Linked DNA regions of Homo sapiens: region 1 is linked to region 2. The links are contacts of gene promoters, found by promoter capture Hi-C in human tissues and cell types (Jung and others, 2019). All regions are on one chromosome and are shown on one strand. Each heading gives the region's core, a stretch centred on a gene start or on the middle of the fragment in contact. The rest is flanking DNA. Distances are from core to core; before and after follow the strand shown. Region 1 holds the start of KLC3 (kinesin light chain 3). Region 2 holds the start of CEACAM16 (CEA cell adhesion molecule 16, tectorial membrane component).

The links. The method cuts DNA at HindIII sites, captures the fragments that hold promoters and counts their contacts. A contact is called where the count stands out against the background at its distance.
Region 1: the fragment with the promoter of KLC3 here is called in contact with the fragment with the promoter of CEACAM16 in region 2 in 1 of the 25 tissues and cell types used here (lymphoblastoid cells).

The regions. Positions count from the first base shown.
Region 1 is chr19:45,338,839-45,344,582 of GRCh38, reverse strand. KLC3 (kinesin light chain 3) reads right to left here and starts at 3,833. Exons shown (of 13, transcript NM_177417.3): 1 at 3,737-3,833. RefSeq lists a silencer at 3,848-3,937. The HindIII fragment of the contact is 10,588 bases long and covers 1-5,744 here.
Region 2 is chr19:44,695,755-44,701,110 of GRCh38, reverse strand. CEACAM16 (CEA cell adhesion molecule 16, tectorial membrane component) reads right to left here and starts at 1,960. Exons shown (of 7, transcript NM_001039213.4): 1 at 1,851-1,960. CEACAM16-AS1 (CEACAM16, CEACAM19 and PVR antisense RNA 1) reads left to right here. Exons shown (of 2, transcript NR_186815.1): 2 at 1,934-2,073. RefSeq lists an enhancer at 3,788-4,393. The HindIII fragment of the contact is 25,622 bases long and covers 1-5,356 here.

The DNA.
Region 1 (5,744 bases), core at 2,584-5,083, 640 kb before region 2:
TTTTCCTCTCCGAAATACAATTTGACACACACACGCACTCTCCCTTCTCTCCAATACAACATGGGGCCAGGTGTAGTGGCTCACGCCTGTAATGCCAGCACTTTGGGAGGCCAAGGTGGGTAAATCACTTGAGGCCAAGAGTTCAAGACCAGCCTGGCCAACAGGGTGAAACCCTGTCTCTACTGGAAAAAAAAAAAAAAAAATAGCAGAGCATGGTGGCGCATGCCTGTAGTCCCAGCTACTTGGGAGGCTGAGGCAGGAGAATTGCTTGAACCCGGGAGGCGGAGGTTGCAGTGAGCCAAGGTCGCACCACTGCAATCCAGCCTGGGCAACAGAGTGAGACTTCATTTAAAAAAAAAAAAAAAAAAGACGGTACACACACACACCCTCCCAGAAATACAGTTACACACACACACACACACACACACTCCCTCATTAGAAACACAATGTAGGCCGGGTGCGGTGGCTCACACCTGTACTCCGAGCACTTTGGGATTTTGGCTGAGGCAGGAGGATCACTTGAGCCCAGGAGTTCAAGACCAGCCTGGGAAACATAGTGAGACCCCATCCCTACAAAAATAAAAATAAAAAAATTAGCTGGGTGTGGTGATGGTGTACCTGGAGGCTGAGGTAGAAGGATTGCTTGAACCCAGGAGGTTGAAGCTGCAGTGAGCCATGATAGTGCCACTGCACTCAGCCTGGGTGAAAGAGTAAGACCCAGTCAAAAAAGAAAGAAAGAAAGGACAGCATAATATACATTCTCCTCTTAGAACACGCACTCACTTTCTCCTATTAAATATACAACTCAGTAAAAACATTTACATTTTCCTTTTAGAAATACAACCTAAGACAACACACTGACTCAGGCACACACATATACTATTCTTTCAAAAACAATCTGTATACACTCCCAACACACAGGTATATTCTCTTAGAAATAAAAACCAAGCCTGGGCGCGGTGGCTCACGCCTGTAATCCCAGCACTTTGGGAGGCCGAGGTGGGTGGATCAGTTGAGGTCAGGAGTTTGAGACTGGCCTGGCCAACATGGTGAAACCCCGGCTCTACTAAAAATACAAAATTAGCCAGGCATGGTGGTATGCGCCTGTAGTCCCCAGCTACTCATGAGGCTGAGGCATGAGAATTGCTTGAACCTGAGAGGCGGAGGTTGCAGTGAGCCAAGATCACGCCACCACACTCCAGCCTGGGTGACAAGAGCAAAACTCCGTGTCAAAAAGTGATAATATTATTTAAAAAAAAGAAAGAAAAGCCAACCCACGCAGAAACTAACTCTGTCTCTCCCACTCCCCAAATCACTCACATTCAGACCATCTCCTTGCACTTGACCGTGACACTCGCTGTCCCCCGAACTCACATGGCTCCCAAGCAGCCAACTCCCCACAATGTGCCCAACGCACCTCCAGATGCACACACTCCCAAGATTCACTATGGATCCCTCGCCAGTTTCCCTACTTCCTCTCCCTCCCACTCCAGGCCTGGCCAGCAGGGACTCCCACACCTACACGCCATGCACACACAAGTACTCAGATTCAGCTCCACTGTCGGAACAGAGAGCTGTGAATACGCGTGGAGGGATGCCACGTTCTCGCACACTTCACTCAAGCCACTGCATCCACCATAAGCAGCCCAGCGGTTTTTGCACATGTTGTACATGCACGATCACATACAGTAAGGGTCCTGTACGTTTTGTGCACCACAGACTTGATCGTCATTGATCTCTCCCTCTCTCTAGATATATGTATGTGTATATATGTGATGTATATATCAACCTTTAAAAAATTTAATTTTATTTTTTTGAGACTGAGTCTCGCTCTGTTGCCCAGACTGGAGTGCAATGGCATGATGTTGGCTCACTGCGATCTCCACCTCCCCAGGTTCAAGCGATTCTCCTCCCTCACCCTCCCAAGTAGCTGGAATTACAGGTGCCCGCCACCACACCTGGCTAATTTTTGTATTTTTAGTACAGACGGGGTTTCACCATGTTGGCCGGGCTGGTCTCAAACTCCTGACCTCAAATGATCCACCCGCTCCCCCCTTGGCCTCCCAAAGTGCTGGGATTACAGGCGTGAGCTACCGCGCCCAGCCAACCTTTTTTTAATTTTTAAAAAACTAAACTATGCCCAGCTAATTTTTGTTTTTGTAGAGACGGGGTATCACCATATTGCCCAGGCTAGTCTAGGATTCCTGGGTTCAAGCAATCCCCGCCGCCTCAGCCTCCCAAAGTGTTGAGATTACAGGTATGAGCCACTGCACCCGGCCAATCTGTGTGCTTGTGTATATCACACCATACCTATTCTCACACCTCACACACAAACATCATAAATGGTTGAACTCACAACCACACAGGTTCAAGAGTCATCCTGACAACCACAACCATTCTTCACACAATTTTGCCGATGTAAAACCTCCCTCTATAACCTCAGACACAGCCTTACACACACCACTCCACAGCCAGATTGACAACCACAGCAACAAACACGGCTCAACCACAGCCATCCAGCACTCGGGCTGTGTCCCAGACACACAGCAGCTCCCACACTCACACAGAGCCCCGGGTGCACAACCGCACAGCTGATAATCATAGGCACAGTCCCACACACTGATCCCTGACGCGGACCCCCTTTTCCATCCTGTCACCCGCTTGGAGGAGCATCCCACTTAAATGTCCACGTCTCCACTCCCATCTCCCACAAACTCTCCGTTGCACACCACTGCCAGCCACGGTATCAATGCAGATCACACACCCTCTAGTTCCTCTCTACACACACACACACACACACACACACGCACACACGGCTTCACACACCTCCACACCTCACTCATCCAACCCCAAGGTTCCACGCGCACCGTCCCATGAAACAGCTCCACTTCTGGACACAGTTCCGCCCAGCCCCATGCACCATCACAGTGACACACAATCAAAAGTCAATCATAGTCACCTATCACTGATCCAGTGCCACACTGTCCACCACACGCGCGCGCGCACACACACACACACACACACACACCAACAGGCAGAAAGACAACCACAGCCGCACAGCCTCTTGGTCAATCACACCTAATCCTACAACCAGTTCCACTCTCTGCCATGAAGACAGCCACACACACAGCCACACACATGCACATCAGGCCAAGCAGAAAGTCGACTACAGTCGCACTAGCTCTTGGTCGTAAAGTGCTACCAGCAATCCAATTCTACACACACACCATTCCAGTCAGAGGTCGCCCACGTTTTCACATTGCTAAAAGTGTCACATCATACACACAGTCCCATCACAGGGTTACACGGACAGTCGCTTTCACCCTCATACCCACAGCCTGACACACTCTCTTACACACACGCAAAGCCACACACACACACACACACACACACACAAACACAGGCAGGCAGGAGACTCCCATCGTGGCCCAGCCCCGCAAGCCGCACCAACTTACCCTGGCCTGCCCAGCCCCGCGCACCAGGCTCACCCGCAGTCACAAGGGCCCCCTCCCTCTCCCTCCCAGGCCCCGCCCCGTCCTCGCTGTTTACCTGCGCTGGGGTGGGGGGCATGGGACCCCAGCCAGGCCTCCAGATCCCGGAGAGCCCCAGGACGGGGCAGGGGGCATCCGGGAGCCCCAAGGCCCTTCCCCGTCTCAGGGCGAGCGGGCCCAGGGTTGCCCCCGCCCCCCATCATCGCGGCTCTCCGAGAGTCCCGCGCCCCACTCCCGGCACCCACCTGACCGCGGGCGGCTCCGGCCCCGCTTCGCCCCACTGCGATCAGTCGCGTCCCGCAGGCCAGGCACGCCCCGCCGCTCCCGCTGCGCCGGGCGTCTGGGACCTCGGGCGGCTCCTCCGAGGGGCGGGGCAGCCGGGAGCCACGCCCCCGCAGGTGAGCCGGCCACGCCCACCGCCCGTGGGAAGTTCAGCCTCGGGGCTCCAGCCCCGCGGGAATGGCAGAACTTCGCACGCGGAACTGGTAACCTCCAGGACACCTCGAATCAGGGTGATTGTAGCGCAGGGGCCTTGGCCAAGCTAAAACTTTGGAAACTTTAGATCCCAGACAGGTGGCTTTCTTGCAGTGCCTGCCCCAGAGCCTTTTCCTTGGTTGTGTGGCCTGCTTCGATCTCTCTTCCCACAGATCTCATCGTCTTTAGGTCTCTTCTCAAAGGCCACCTCCTCCGGCAGGCCTTCCCTGATTGCCCCCTTCTAAATGGCACCCTTCCACCAAAACATTACATACTCCTCTTGATTTTGTTCACAAAACTTTTCAGGGCCTAAAATTACCTTATTTATTTATTGAGAGGGAGTCTCGCTCCGTCACCCAGGCTGGAGTGCAGTAGCGCGATCTCGGCTCACTGCAACCTCCACCTCCCAAGTTCAAGCGATTCTCCCATCTCAGTCTCCCGAGTAGCTGCGACTACAAGTGTCTGCCACCACGCCCGGCTACTTTTTATATTTCTAGTAGAGACGGGGTTTCGCCATGTCGGCCAGGCTGGTCTCAAACTCCTGACCTCAAGTGATCCTCCCGCCTCGGCCTCCCAAAGTTCTGGGATTACAGGAGTGAGCCACCGCCCCCGGCCCCTAAAGTTATTTTATATAACATATATCACATCATTATGTTATGTTATATATTATGTTATTGGCAAGGGAATGTGATATCTAAGAATTGGGCTCAGGGTTCAAATTTGATTCCGGCACTTACTTGCTGTGCAGGCCTTGGGCAAGTAACTTAACCTCTCTGTGCCTCAGTTTCCCTAGTCAATAAAATATAAATAGTCTAAGGCTTTGAGAATTGAATGTTAACTAATACAGGGACAGTACTTTTTTTTTTTTTTTTTTTTTTTTGAGACACAGTCTCGCTGTGTTACCCAGGCTGGAGTACAATGGCGCTATCTTATCTTGGCTCACTGCAACTCCTGGGTTCAAGTCATTCTCCTGTCTCAGCCTCCCGAGTAGCTGGGATTACAGGCGCCCGCCACCATGCCCAGCTAATTTTTCCATTTTTAGTAGAGACGGGGTTTCCCCATGTTAGCCAGGCTGATCTCGAACTCCTGACCTTAGGTGATCTGCCCACCTCGACCTCCCAAAGTGCTGGAATTACAGGCGTGAGCCACCGCGCCTGGCCAGGACAGTACTTTTATCAGGGCCTCGCAAATAGAAAGTACTTAGTAAATACTCGCTACTGACTGTATATTATGGGTTCACTTTTTCTCCTCTACTATATAAGCTCTGAGGGCAGGGCTGTATATTGTCAGCACTGTTATCTTCAGCAAGAGCTTGATGCAAAGTCGGTGCTCAATAAATTGTGACTGAATGAAGGAATCAAGTCCTAGAATAGTAAGCTGGCCAAAGCTGGGAGGACACGATTCTAATATAACTTGAGGACGGCGCAGTGGCTCACACCTGTAATCCCAGCACTTTGGGAGGCCGAGGGGGCTGGATCACTTGAGGTCAGGAGTTCGAGACCAGCCTGGCCAACATGGTGAAACCCTATCTCTACTAAAAATACAAAATTAGCCGGGTGTGGTAGCGCACGCCTGTAATCCCAGCTACTTGGGAGGCTGAGGCAGGCGAATCGCTTGAACCCCAGAGGCAGAGGTTGCAGTGAGCCGAGATCACACCATTACACTCCTGCCTGGGCAACAAGAGCGAAACTCCATCTCAAAAATAAATAAATGCATACATACATACATGGCTCAATGCGCGCGGTACCCCGGTCACTACACTATGAAATGCTTCCAGCA
Region 2 (5,356 bases), core at 711-3,210:
TTCTTACCAACCACCCAGGCCCGTGGCCTCCTCAGAGAGCCTGGGAGTCACCAAGGAAGAAAATCAGTAAAAGGTGACTGCACCTTTCCCAGCCCCACCCAGTGCAGGGGACCTACAGGTGTTGTCTCAGCGGATGGCAAAACAACCCTGTAAAGTGGGCACCTTTAGGACCCCCCTTTGCAGATGGAGATGAGCTAGGTGGGGACTCCCACTTGTCCGGGTTCCTGCAGGGAGAGGGGATTTGAGCCCTGCTCTGTGTGCAAACCCAGACAGAAGGGCAGGAAACTGTATGGCCACATGCTTTCTTTGGGGCTCTCCTTCTTGTTGGCTTCCTGCAAAGTGCTCAGAAGTTCACATTCTCTTTCTCCCACTTCGGAGGCCTTGTTTTCCCCTCTCTGTCAAATGGGCGTATTCGGAGGCTTTGGGGCCAAGGAGAGCTGAGTTTTGACACCAGCTCTGCACTTACCCAAAGTGGGGCTGGGGACAGTCCCTTGTTGAGTCTCCATTTATTATTCTGATAAATAGAGATGATGGCCGGGTGCACTGGCTCATGCCTGTCATCCCAGCACTTCGGGAGGCCAAGGCAGGCGGATCATTTGAGGTCAGGAGTTCGAGATCAGCCTGGCCAACATGGCGAAACCCCATCTCTACTAAAAATAATAATAATAAAAATAGCCAGGCGTGGTGGCAGGTGCCTGTAGTCCCAGCACTTTGGGAGGCTGAGATGGGCAGATCACCTGAGGTGAGGAGTTTGCAACCAGCCTGACCAACATGGCGAAACCCCGTCTCTATTAAAAATATAAGTTAGCTGGGTGTGGTGGCTAACGCCTGTAATCCCAACACTTTGGGAGGCCAAGGCAGGTGGCTCACGAGGTCAGGAGTTCGAGACCAGCCTGGCCAATATGGTGAAACCTCGTATGTACTAAAAATATAAAAAATTAGCTGGGTGTGGTGGTGTGCACCTGTAGTCCCAGCTACTCGAGAGGCTGAGGCAGGAGAATCTCTTGAACCCAGGAGGTGGAGGTTGCAGCGAGCTGAGATCACACCACTGCACTCCAGCCTGGGTGACAGAGTGAGACTCTATCTCAAAAAACAAAAGCAAAAACAAAAAATAAAAGTTAGCCGGTCATGGTGGCACATGCCTGTAATCCCAGCTACTAGGGAGGCTGAGGTAGGAGAATCGCTTGAATCCAGGAGGTAGAGGTTGCAGTGAGCCGAGATCCTGCCACTGCACTCCAGCCTGGGTGACAGAGCAAGACTCCATTTCAAAAACAAACAAAAAAATAGAGATGATATGGACCCTACTTCAGGTTTGTTGACAGCAGTTAGTGAGAGGCTACAAGTCAGGGATTTAAGCCAGAGCCTGGTGGACGTGGGTCTGATTGGTATGCCTGTTATTAAAAGTATAGGCTCTGGCCGGGCGTGGTGGCTCATGGCCGGACGCAGTGGCTCATGCCTGTAGTCCTAGCACTTTGGGAGGCCGAGGTGGGTGGATCAACTGAGGTCAGGAGTTCAAGACCAGCCTGGCCAGCATGGTGAAACCCTGTCTCTACTAAAAATACAAAAATTAGCTGGGTGTGGTCGCGGGCACCTGTAATCCCAGCTACTTGGGAGGCTGAAGCAGGAGAATTGCTTGAACCCTGGGCAAAAGAGTGAAACTCCATCTCAAAAAAAAAAAAGTATAGGCTCTGGACATAGTTCCACTGTTTCCTACCTCCAGGACCCTGGGCAATTTATGGACTCTGCCAAGCCTCAGTTTCCTTATTTGTAAAATAGGGAAAACAATAGTACTCACATCACAGGGCTGTTGAAAGGATTAAGTAGATACACATGTGAAGTACAGTACTTACCACGACTGGCGCAGAGTAAATGCTCAGTAAATCACTCATTCACTTATTGGACAAATACTGAATGAGCACCTATTGTTTGCCAGGTGCTGTTCTAGGCGCTGAGGATGCAGCCGTGCACAAGACGGATGAAATCCCTGCCCTCAGGGGGCCGACATTTGCGGAGTAAATAAAGGAAAGGTAAATATCTTCCACGTCAGATTGAAAAATAAAGTCAGAAAGGGGATTTGCCATTTTATTTTTTGTAGAGATGGGATCTCGCTATGTTGCTCTGCCTGGTCTCAAACTCTTGGCCTCAAGTGATCTTCCCACCTTGGCCTCCCAAAGTGCTGGGATTACAGCCATGAGCCACTGCCCCTGGCCTGGTTTGCTACTTTAAATTGGGGTGGAGGGAGGGTAACAGGGAAGGTGTCTCTGAGATGATGCTGGGCAGGAGCCGAGGGGGTTGTGGTGCCAGAGCTGCTGATAGCTGTGTTCTTATGACCTGCATCCTGATGGCTTCTGAGTCCTGGTTCCTCTGAGGCCTCTGCAGCCTGCTTCCGGGCAGGGGGCCACACCTGTGCTCACCTGTCCTGGTTTGCCTCCAGCACTGTGTCCTGGGCTGCCCTCGTGGGGCAGGGCTCTAACAAGGGGGAGAAGGCCCTGAGGAGGTGCGGGTGAGGCCAGGTGAGAGGCACAGAGGATGTCCTGGCGCCTCCTGCTCCCCTCTCCCCACCTGTGACCTCACCTCACTCTTCTGCGTCCTGGCCCAGAGCACTGGGACCTCATCCCAGTATCAATCAGGATGCCTCCCTGATGTCCCTGGGCACCTCTCACTCACCTTGTCCCAAACTGACCTTGGCATCTTCCCCCAGAAGTGTATCTTCCCCTGGTGCCCTTATCAGGGAAGGCGCCACTACCCACCTCATCGCTGGGAAAAGAGACCTGGGGCCTCATCCCTGATGCCTCCCCCTACTCCCCGAACACGCCACCCCTTCTGGCAACTGACTCTACGTATATCTTCTCTCCCTCCCTGAAGCCCCTGCCCTGGTCTAGGTGACCACTCCACCACCCCACCTTGCCTGGGTCCTCCTGTCTCCCCACCAGCCTCCTCCCTAGTCTCTGGCCCTGGTCTCCCCGACTCCCATTGCCCCTCCACATGGCAGACAGAGGCTCTTTCCAAAACAAAAACCTGCCTCTGCCCCTCCGTGCTCAGAACCTGCTGTGGCTCCCCAGTGCCCTTGGGAGGAAGCCCAGGTTCCTCACTGTAGCCCAGGAGGCCCTGCCCGGCCTGACTCCTGCCCACCTGACCAGCTACATAGAATACCACTTGCTTCCGGGAACCCTCTGCTTCAGTTCTTCTGTTTCACTTGCACTCTACCCAGAATATCCCTGCTTCCCTCTGCTCTATTCCACTGCCTTCCCCAAACCCTCTCCTCCAGGAAGCCCTCCTGGACTTCAGGGCCTGGAATTCCCTGTCTCAGCCCTGACTGCCTTGGGTTCTCGCTGTCTGGGGCTGGGTCTTTTTCCCCCACTGGCCTGGGAGCCTCAGCTGGGCACGGCTGGGCTGTCACCACTGTGTCCCCAGCACTGCCCAGCAAATCACCTGGCACAGAGCAGAGGCTCACAGCATGTTTGTGGAACTGGACACCAGGTGTGGATGACACAGAGAGAGGAGTCTTCAGAGAGGCTCAGGTTCCTGGTGATCTGCTGTCTGCCTGCGGAGTGTGACCAGGCCGGGCTCTAGAGGCCCTCTATCGTCACATCCACCCTTCCTAGTCTGCCCCCATCCTCCACCTCCCTGGCCCCTCCTCTGGTGCTCCCGGCTGTGAGCCCAGATCCTTGGTTCAGTCAAGAGCTGCAGGCTCTTTAGCACCTGCTGTGCGCCGCCGGGCTGCGCAGAAAGCAGACGGGGTTCTTGTGGGCAGGGGCTTTTTCCTGTTTGTGCAGTGGGTGGGGGGTGTTCATGACATTGACTTCCCTGGGACTCTTCTGAGGATCAAAATAGGCACATGGAGTGTTCCGTGCCGGGCCTGCCTCAGAGCACGTACTGGGGGCACAGTGGTCGTTGTTCCTCCACCATTTGACAAATGTTTATGGAGCACCAACTATGTGCCGGGCACTGCGCTAGGCGCTGTGGGGTTACAGCCGTGAATACGGTAGACACAGAGCTGACCTATTGATTGGGGAGACAGTTAATAGACGAATACAAACATGAGCAGTGTTAGAACAGGTGGGGACAATGCTGTGGAGAAAAATAAAGCAGGGGAAGGGATGGAGGTGGTCGGGGCACTGGTTTATGCAGGGCAGCAAGGCGACATTGTCAGAGCGACATTGGAGTAGAGGTTCAATAAGGGGGGCCGGGCGCGGTGGCTCACACCTGTAATCCCAGCATTTTGGGAGGCTGAGGCGGGAGGATGGCTTGAGCCCAGGAGTTCGAGACCAGCCTGGGCAGCGTAGAGCACGTCTCTACAAAAAAATTTAAAAATGAGCCAGGAGTGGTGTTGCACGCCTGTAGTCCCAGCTATTTGGCAGGCTGAGGTAGGAGGATCGCCTGAGCCCAGGAGGTTGAGTCTGCAGTGAGCTGTGATCTCACCACTGCACTCCAGCCTGGGCGACAGAGCAAGACCTTGTTGTCTCATTAAGAAAAAAAAAAAAAAAAAAGAGCGCATGCATACACAATAATGTAAAACAGATAATCAGTTTTTTATATTGATTCTGTGCTGAAATGACATTTTGCATATGTTGTGTTAAATACATTCGTTTCACCTTTCTTCATGAGATGAGGCTGGAAAAGGTTGAATTGTGTTTGCGGCTCCACTCTTGCTCCTGTTGGGTAGTGCTGGACCAGGCAGGAGGTAGTGGCGGCTGAACCAGGGATGGGAGAAGTGGTCAGCTTGTAGATGTATTCTGCTGATATCATTCTTCTTCTTCTTCTTCTTCTTCTTCTTTTTTAAATGGAGTCTTGATCTGTCATCCAGGCTGGAGTGCAGTGGTGCGATCTTGGCTCACTGCAACCTCCACCTCCCAAGTTCAAGCGATTCTCTCACCTCAGCCTCCCGAGTAGCTGGGATTACAAGCATGCGCCACCATGCCTGGCTAATTTTAATATTTTTAGTACAGACAGGGTTTTGACATGTTGGCCAGGCTGGTCTCAAACTCCTAACCTCAAGTGATCCACCTGCCTTGGCCTCTCAAAGTGCTGGGATTACAGGTGTGAGCCACCGTGCCTGGCCCATTATTCTTTTTGACAGCTTCAGCTTTTCCTGTTATCCATCTCCCCGCTGCCCACCCCCAAGAAAACCCATTTTGCAGACAAGTAAACTGAGGCCCCGGGCCATTGCCTCATAAGATTGGAGCAGATGAGTCTTATCTTCTCTGCACAGCCATCTGGGGACACGGGTCTATGACCTTGTTTGGTCAGGGTCACCCCTTGCCCGCCCAGCCCTCTTGTCTCACCAGTCACTTAGTTTCCTTGGGAGCGGGAGGGAGGCTGGGAACTCCTTTATCTGCTCTTCAAGACCCTGCCC